2 separate regions of the Homo sapiens genome follow, and region 2 is linked to region 1. Evidence: promoter capture Hi-C in 16 types of primary human blood cells and fetal thymus (Javierre and others, 2016). All regions are on one chromosome and are shown on one strand. Each heading gives the region's core, a stretch centred on a gene start or on the middle of the fragment in contact. The rest is flanking DNA. Distances are from core to core; before and after follow the strand shown. Region 1 holds the start of DMXL2 (Dmx like 2). Region 2 overlaps LYSMD2 (LysM domain containing 2).

Region 1 (3,975 bases), core at 700-3,199:
TGGAGTGAGTTTTGACTGATCAGATTGGACAATAAAAGGCTCAGCTGTAATTCCAGGAGACTTAATTAGTCATTTGCAACCTTAAGATACAGCTATCAAGAAGCCATTTAAAGGATTCATGAGGGAAGAGAACAGGTGGATACAGGCTTCAGATTTTGAGTTTGATACCGAGAGGAAGAAAGAGGCTCACAACTTCACAACTGTGTGAATGGGCCAAAACTTCATGGAATGCTGTAAAACAAGAGCCAAATGTGAAATGGTTTAAATAATGTGAATTAGTAACACTCTTGGAAACCTGAGTACAATTTGTTGTTTGATGATAGTTTTGACTTGGTTTCTAATGCAGTGAAGGTCAAAGATTAAGAGACTCATCTAGAATCTAGTAGTAACAAAAAGGAACCCTTGGATATGGCGCGGGGGAAGGGAGGAAGGGGGGGGGAGGGAAGGGGAGGGAGGGGGGAGAGAGAGAAAGAGAGAGAATGCCGCAGGTCATTAGGTATTATTTTTCATTCCTCCTGCAACTTTCTACTGAAAAGATTACCAACGACTGACAGATCTTTGCCTCCAATCTTCCCCACCCTTCCCTTTATGCTTCAAAATGCTACAAAGTCATCTTCCCAAAGCAGCTCTGATTATATAAATTTTTGCTCAGAAACATCTGATATACCCCCACTGCATGCAGAGTGAAATCTGGGCTTCTTGGAGCATTCAAGACTCTCCATAATATGTTTTGGTAGGCCAAGAGTTAGACCACTTGGATACCTTGATCTCTTGCTAAGTATTATTTACTTTCCCTACCCTATAAATCATCTGCCTCAAACATTAATCTTTGTACCTTCAACACCCCCTCTATTTTCTGTACTGTATTTGCAGCATTTCTTGTCTATCTCAGCCTGTCAAAATTAAACTCAGCGTTTATGTCAGGTTATGTCTCCATAATGCCTTATCCACGCCCTTAGTCAACATTCTTCTTCCTCTTCTGTGGTGCATAAAGACTTTTATATCTCAATCACACCACCTTTGGCGTTCTGCCTGGTTTTACAGATAGTTATGTCTTGGTGTCCCCTACTTCCTTACCCTGTGATTTAAGCATAGTATGGGTTAGAACATTTGCCATGAATTGGCCTGTGGCAGGGAGCTGATGATCCTTGTTATCAACCATTCAAAGTTTAGCAGATAGTTTGGAAAATCAGGCGATTCTGCTAATTCATGAAATTACTCATGAAAAAAAGTCGAAAGGAGTCACCCGTCTCTAAGGCGGCTTTTTGCTGTCTAGAATAACCGTGACAAAAGGTGGGAGCAAAATAATTAGCTTTCAGGGGAGTATGGCTTCTCTAAATAGTTGCAAGATGCCTACATTGTTTATGTAAAATAAAATATCTTATGTACTGCACTTTCGAAAAGACTGAAGATATCTAAGATATCTCCAGGTGGAAATTCCCGGTGACGGGTGTCCTTCTGAGGTCAACGGCACTGACCATTGCACACTGTATTCTGGAATACGTTCAACACAGCAAAACCGGCTCGTGGCGCGTCCCCGGCGTCCGACTGCTGCGTGGCCCCGAGCGACCTGCACCCCACTCGCCCCCGCCCCCACCTCCGCCCCAGTCCGCAGCGGCTACAGCCCGGGAGGCTCCAAGGGAACTCCCGCACGTCTGCGCGCGCAATCACGGGACGGCGGGTCGGCGTGGCGCGCGCAATTGCCCTGGAAACCACGGCGCGCGCACGCGCAAACGCGGGTGATGGGGGGAAGAAAGACTGAGCTGAGAGCTTTGCCGCGGGGGGAGGGCTCTACCTCGCTCCCCCGCGGTGGGCGCGCGCGCTGGCCCGCTCCCTTGCTGCACGCTCCCGGCTCGCGCGTTCCCCCCGGTGCCCTCCCCCGCCTCACAAGCACCCTTGCCCTCCCGCATTTGTGCGCCGGTGCAGCAGGCAGTGGGAACATCCGGGCATTTCCGCAGCTGAGCGGCGACCCGGGCGGCGGCGGCGGTCGAGGAGCTCCCATGGCAGGGACGAGGCGGAGGGAAGGCGAAAGGGGGGCGAGGAGTTAAGCCAGAGCCTCCGCGGGGCGGGTTTCCGAGGGAGGCACAGAGGGAAACGGCTCTCGCAGCCCGAGGAGGGTCAGGCGCGGAGCTTGTCGCACCTCCCGCGCATTCTGTCCAGCCCGGGCTCCGGAGATGCATCTGCATCAGGTCCTCACCGGAGCTGTCAACCCTGGAGACAACTGCTACTCCGTGGGCAGCGTCGGGGATGTCCCCTTCACGGTGAGCGGCGGCCGGGAGCCCTAGGGGAAGATACCAGGGGCCAGACGCGGGGGCAGGGACCTCCTGTCCAGGGCGCACGCCTCCTCAGGAGGCTGTGAGATGTTGGTGGGCCCCACCCGTGGCCCCTTTGCAGCCTTGGGGTTTAGTTCCCCCTGGGACCCGTGGGACCGTGGGTCCTGCGTCTGGTGTAGGAAATCACCCGTTAGGGGAAAGGCTTAGGAATCCACCGCACTCTCCACCCCAAGCAAACGGGCCTGAGGTGACTGGACTAGAAGGCTCCTCCTAGGGCGGCCCTTCGGTCTGCGGTGGAGGAAAGTGGTGGTGCGGCTGAAACCCCAGAGCGTCCGTTTCGCAGCTGCTCTCGGCGTGGAGGCGAAGAGACTTGGTGTTGGTCTCGGAGCGTGGAGGTGAAGAGACTTGGTGTTGGTCTCGGAGCGTGGAGGCGATGCTGCGCCTTGGCTCCCCCTGCCCGCTGTGCTAGGGCAGCGAGGAGCTGCTGGAGTCTGTGGCTTTAAGCCTGACTCTGTATCTCCTGATAATGCAGGATCTTAATTCCAACAAAAAGATAGAAAAATTCATCCTCCGCGCCCGAAAGATTTAGAATGGAAAGGTTAGAGTCACAGTGGCTTGGAGAGCTGTCTCATTTATCAGGAGGTCGTAGTTTGGTAATCCTCCTAGATAATATTTTAATCTGTAAGGTAGCCTTTTTTTTAATATAGTAAGGCAATGTGAAAAATTTACAACAGTGCTTGTTTGAGAAAAGTGTATGTATACATAACGTTTTAGAATCTCCTTAAAAGCTAGATGAAGTAGACATGTTTCTCAAGGAGATTGGACTCATCAGTCCTTTTTGAGAGTGGAAATGTTTAAACCAAGCCTTGGAGCTTCGTTTACTCATAGATAGACTCCCATAAATTGAGTTCTTTTTTAAAGAATGAAATTTATACATGGTCTTCCTTATAAGGAACTGTAGGCAGCCAGACCTTTATTAAATATATTTTGTAAACTGTTCTTCTTGATAAAACTGGAAATTCCGTAATGGTATGCTTTTTAGACAAGGAAAACCCTTTGATGTCTGCTTTCCAACAGTGTTTTTAAAACTGCGGAAAATAAAGCTTCAGCAAAACTGCAGAATCATTATGTAGCAGTGCATTCTGGAACAGAATTTATTTTTTGACGTTTTGTGATACATTAACCCCAGAAGATTGCTTTTTAGCCATTTTAATTTTTTAGTGTAATCCACTTGGCCTAGCTCCAGTTTAGAACGACCCCTTTTGTCATCTGTGTTTTATGTACATGTGACTTAAAATATTCATATAGAGCTGAGCTTTGTCTTCAAGTGTGTGGAGAATCTTGGTTTTTGGGGATAGAGAGAAGAAATTTCCCTGTTCCCCAGTAGTGCAGATAGGAAGTTCCTCAGGGTTAGAAGAGTGGGCCTCTTTCATCAAGAAACAAAGCTGGAATCTTTGGTTATATTTTCCTGCTAGAATGGTGGTGGTAGTTTTCTGCTTCCATCTAAAGTGGAGTGCTGTCTCACGGCAGGTCTGGTATGTAGAACTAAATAAACGGGTTCAGATGCAGCCTGGAAAAGCCTGTGTAAGAACTGTTAGTGCTGTGCAGGTGTGGTTATGCTGTAGGCCACTTGTGACCAGATGCTTAGAGTCATTTTCAAATCTTCTTGCACTTCCCTAATTCAGCGTTTCACGAAGTCTAG
Region 2 (3,975 bases), core at 697-3,196, 110 kb before region 1:
CCGCTCGTACGGCAGCACCGCCAGCGTGCGGGCGCCGCTGGGCGCCGGCGTCATCGAGCGCCATGTGGAGCACCGGGTCCGCGCGGGCGACACGCTGCAGGGCATCGCGCTCAAGTACGGTGTCACGGTGAGCAGGGCGCGCCGCCGCGGCCCGGGCTGGCAGCTACCGCGCAGGAGGCGGTGCGGCTCGGGGTGCGGTGGGGGTGGGGGTGGGACTGCGGGTGGGGGTTTGGGGGATGGGGAGTCGCAGGGACGGCCGTGCGTCCCCGGGCGGCTCGGCTCCCAGGGCTCGCTCAGCGCGCGCTGCTGGCCACCGCAGTGGTCGCCAAAGCTGGTCCTGCAGCGGGAGGGGCGGACCGCCAGGGCTCCCTCCCTAGGTAGCTGCATCGAGTTCCCGGTGCCCCGCCCAGGCTCAGACTAGATCTGTCGCGTGAGGGAGGCCGAAGAGGACTAGGGCTTTGGCATCCCCGTGAACCACCTTCACCCAATTTGCAGGCCCCATCACACTACTCTATATTTACGCAAAGCCCAACTGAGGTGAATTTTGTTGTCTGTGAAAACAAGCTCCGTGATGAGTCAGGAATGGTGCAGTTGTTCCTACTGGGTGGTTCTGGTTCTATCGATTATGCTTCTTTATGTAGAAGTGAAATTACACCCTCTGGGCTCACTGGCAACCGCGAATGTGACACCTGTCGCTAAGCAGCAGCCAAGAACTGTGGTGAGCTGGAGGGCTGCGTTTATTACAAATTTATAAGTGTGTGTGTCTTGGGTGTATAGCATTACACCTCTGGGAAGAACATGGAAACCTGAGGGAACAAATTGTTTCATTAAAATTACTTATAATTAACTGTGAGCTATGTGATGGCCTTTTTACATTTGGGATCTGTATCAGTTTTCAGTGTTCTTTCCTGAAGCACCTTAGACAGCAATGGGAAGAAAGAGGATCTTATCTATATCTTTCCCTTAAAGTGAAACTCTTTCTGGCCCTTTACCGAATGAAGGAGCATCAGTATGAAGGAGAATGTATTTTGCATATTTAAGCCGGTATATGTTTACCTATCAGGTCCTTCTATCTTTGAAATATTTTGAAAGGGACCTTGCTGTGCAGTCATGTATTGACTCTATCATGCCATGGAGAGCCCCATTCTGCCCTCTTGGGAGTTCTATACATGTGAACATAGAGCTACAATTCTCTATGTGCCTTAATGGGGCCTGGTTTGAGTCAGAGGCAGAGGAAAGCGAAGTTGGGAAATACCAGTAGCTACCCTCTGCTGAATGCCTCCTGTGTGGCAGGCATTGCGTTTGTCTTGTTTCATCTTTATCTTATTTAACTTTCACAATAAGCCCAGGAGGTAGGTGTAATTAATCTTTTTACAGATGAGAAGATGGATGAGAGGTAAGGATATTTTCCAAGTATGATCATTCATTGAGACCAGCTTGAATTAACAGTGATAAAGCATTTGCTTTCCTCTAGATATTACTTTTGATATCCATCCTTATTTTTATCTTAGTCTTATCAGGAGCTCTCTCAGCATCCTGGCTACTGAAGGAGGACAGTCTTTTCTATCTGGTTTTCAGGCATCTTGCCTTACTAGGCTAGTGACAGCACCTAAAAATCTATGACATGCAGAAGAGTGTTATTTCCCATGCTGTCTTCCCGTGCAATCTCTCTGTGACCCACAGCCGTCTGTGGTTTCACTTGAGTTGATTATAGATAACTCTTATACATCTGTTTACTGCAGTTTTCCACCTTTGATCAAATGCTTTCTAATCCCTGTTATGTCTAATATAGATCCTATTACTCATAACCTCATTACCCCTTTTTAAAATTAAAGTGTAGATCAGATTTTTCGTTGCTTTTATAAAGACTTTTGATTTTAAGATATTAAACACAAGGATAATGAATCAGGAACTATAATTGATAGTGACACATAGTTCATTACAGGGTTTCCCAACCTCAGCACTGTTGATGTTATAGACCAGATAACTCTTTGTTGCACGGGGTTGTCCTGTGCAGTGTAGAATATTTAGCAGCATCTCTGGCCTCTACCCACTAGATGCCAGTAGCACTCTCCCACCCCTATTCAGGCATTGCCGGATGTTCTCTAGAAGGCAAATTTACCCCTGGTTGAGGACCACTGGTTTATTACATGTATTTCTCATTACTTTGGGCCCTGGCTTATAGTTGATAAAATTTTTAGAGACTCCTCCACTGGTAATATAGAATCAGTGAAAGTGATAATACTTACCATAACAGTGAAGTGATATTCTTGTTTTAATATCTTCAGATTTTTTTTTTTTTTGAGACAGGGTCTCACTCTGTTACCCAGGCTGGAGTGCAGTGGCACTAACATGGCTCACTGCAGCCTCAGCTGCCGCTGCTCAAGTGATCTTCCCACCTCGGCCTCCTGAGGAGTTGGGACTACAGGCTCAAGCCACATGCCCAGCTAATTTTTGTATTTTTTGTAGAAATGGGGTCTCATTATGTTGCCCAGGCTGGTCTGGAACTCCTGGGCTCAAGCAATCCACCCACCTCAGCCTCCCAAAGTGCTGGGCCTACAGGTGTGAGCCACTGCACTGGTCTAATATCTGCAGATATTAATTAGGTTTACTCATTGTGAGATTTTAAGGTGGAAGCTAAAAAGGCAGAAAAATATTTTTCTTCTGACTGAACAGAAAGAAGTTGAGCAAATTAGGTTTCTGTTGTTGACTGGCAAGACCATCTACAACATATTTAAATGATTGTTTTAAAAGGTCGAAAATGAGATATTGGAGGCTTAGAGACTCAAGGCAGTGCACCTAGAAATTAAGTCAGTTCAGCAAACAGTTGACCTTAACATACCATGTCTGTCAATCTTGCACAGATGAGCAGAAACTCTCAGGAAAGCCTGTCTCTCCATGGCAACTCCTCAGCCACCCAGCTGGGTGTCAGGCAGGACTTCAGTCCTTTGGTGGAAGACTGATTAAGAGCCAGTCGTAGTCTAGGTACAAGGAAGTTCCCAGAACAGAGACTCCGACAAGGGGGTGAAGATGGAGACCTGGTTGCCAGCCCTGGATTACAAGGGTAACAAGCTGGGAGCCATTTTCTGAAGTGGTGCTGAAGGGCTGGCAGCAGGGCATATCTCAGGATGTGAGAATAGATCCATGTTCCTCAAATTGGCCTGGGCAGGACAGGAATACTCTGGGGCAAACTAAAAATAAAGGATCCTAGCTGACATTGGATCTATGGGATTGGAATACCCAGAAAAGGAGTCTAGGAGTCTCTGTTTTGTTTGTTTGTTTGTTTTTGTTTTTGAGACAAAGGCTCACTTTGTCACCCTGGCTGGAGTGCAGTGGCCTGATCTTGGCTCACTGCAACCTCCGCCTCCCGGGTTCAAGCTATTCTCCTGCCTCAGCCTCTCGAGTAGCTGGGACTTTAAGCACACGCCACCATGCCCGGCTAATTTTTGTATTTTTAGTAGAGATAGGGTTTCACTATGTTGGCCGGGCTGGTGTTCAACTCCTGACCTCATGATCTGCCCACCTTGGCCTCCCAAAGTGTTGGGATTACAAGCGTGAGCCACCGCATCTGGCCAGAGTCTCCATTTTTAACAAGCATGGCTGCTTTGCTTGTTCCCAAAGCACTGTTCTTCCTTGGGGTTCTTGCACTTGCTGTTCCATCTGTCTTTCTCTAATAGCTGGATACAGGGCTAGCTTCATGGGCATGTGACCTGCGCAGTCACAGAAGACCCCATGCTTAGAAGGGCCTCACACTTGGTTTAATGCTCTACTGTCATCTCTTGAAATTTTTAATAGTTTGTGAACAAGGGCCTCACATTTTCATATTTTTTTACTGGCCCTGGGCGAATGATGGAGCTGATTCTGGCTGAGTGATTTGTTCCCTCATTGCCTTCAAGTCTTTGCTTAAATATCTCATTCTTAAGGCCTTTTCTGCACACTCTATGTCAAATTGTAGCCTTTCTCCCTAGTCCCCCA

Evidence for each region. The method cuts DNA at HindIII sites, captures the fragments that hold promoters and counts their contacts. A CHiCAGO score of 5 or more calls a contact.
Region 2: a contact is called between a fragment that was not itself captured here and the fragment with the promoter of DMXL2 in region 1, in 1 of 17 cell types (monocytes). The highest score is 7.0, in monocytes.

The regions. Positions count from the first base shown.
Region 1 is chr15:51,620,745-51,624,719 of GRCh38, reverse strand. It overlaps DMXL2 (Dmx like 2), which reads left to right and starts at 1,949. Exons shown (of 44, transcript NM_001378457.1): 1 at 1,949-2,261. The coding sequence starts at 2,175. LOC105370816 (a long non-coding RNA gene) reads left to right here. Exons shown (of 5, transcript XR_932236.3): 5 at 1-36. RefSeq lists a silencer at 1,812-2,031 and an enhancer at 2,402-2,811. The HindIII fragment of the contact is 5,213 bases long and covers 1-3,378 here.
Region 2 is chr15:51,733,502-51,737,476 of GRCh38, reverse strand. It overlaps LYSMD2 (LysM domain containing 2), which reads left to right. Exons shown (of 3, transcript NM_153374.3): 1 at 1-127. Among named protein-coding and RNA genes, the nearest start is that of LYSMD2, 2.2 kb to the left of the region's middle. RefSeq lists silencers at 1-93, 164-373, 2,047-2,116 and enhancers at 2,917-2,976, 2,987-3,046. The HindIII fragment of the contact is 6,506 bases long and covers 1-3,975 here.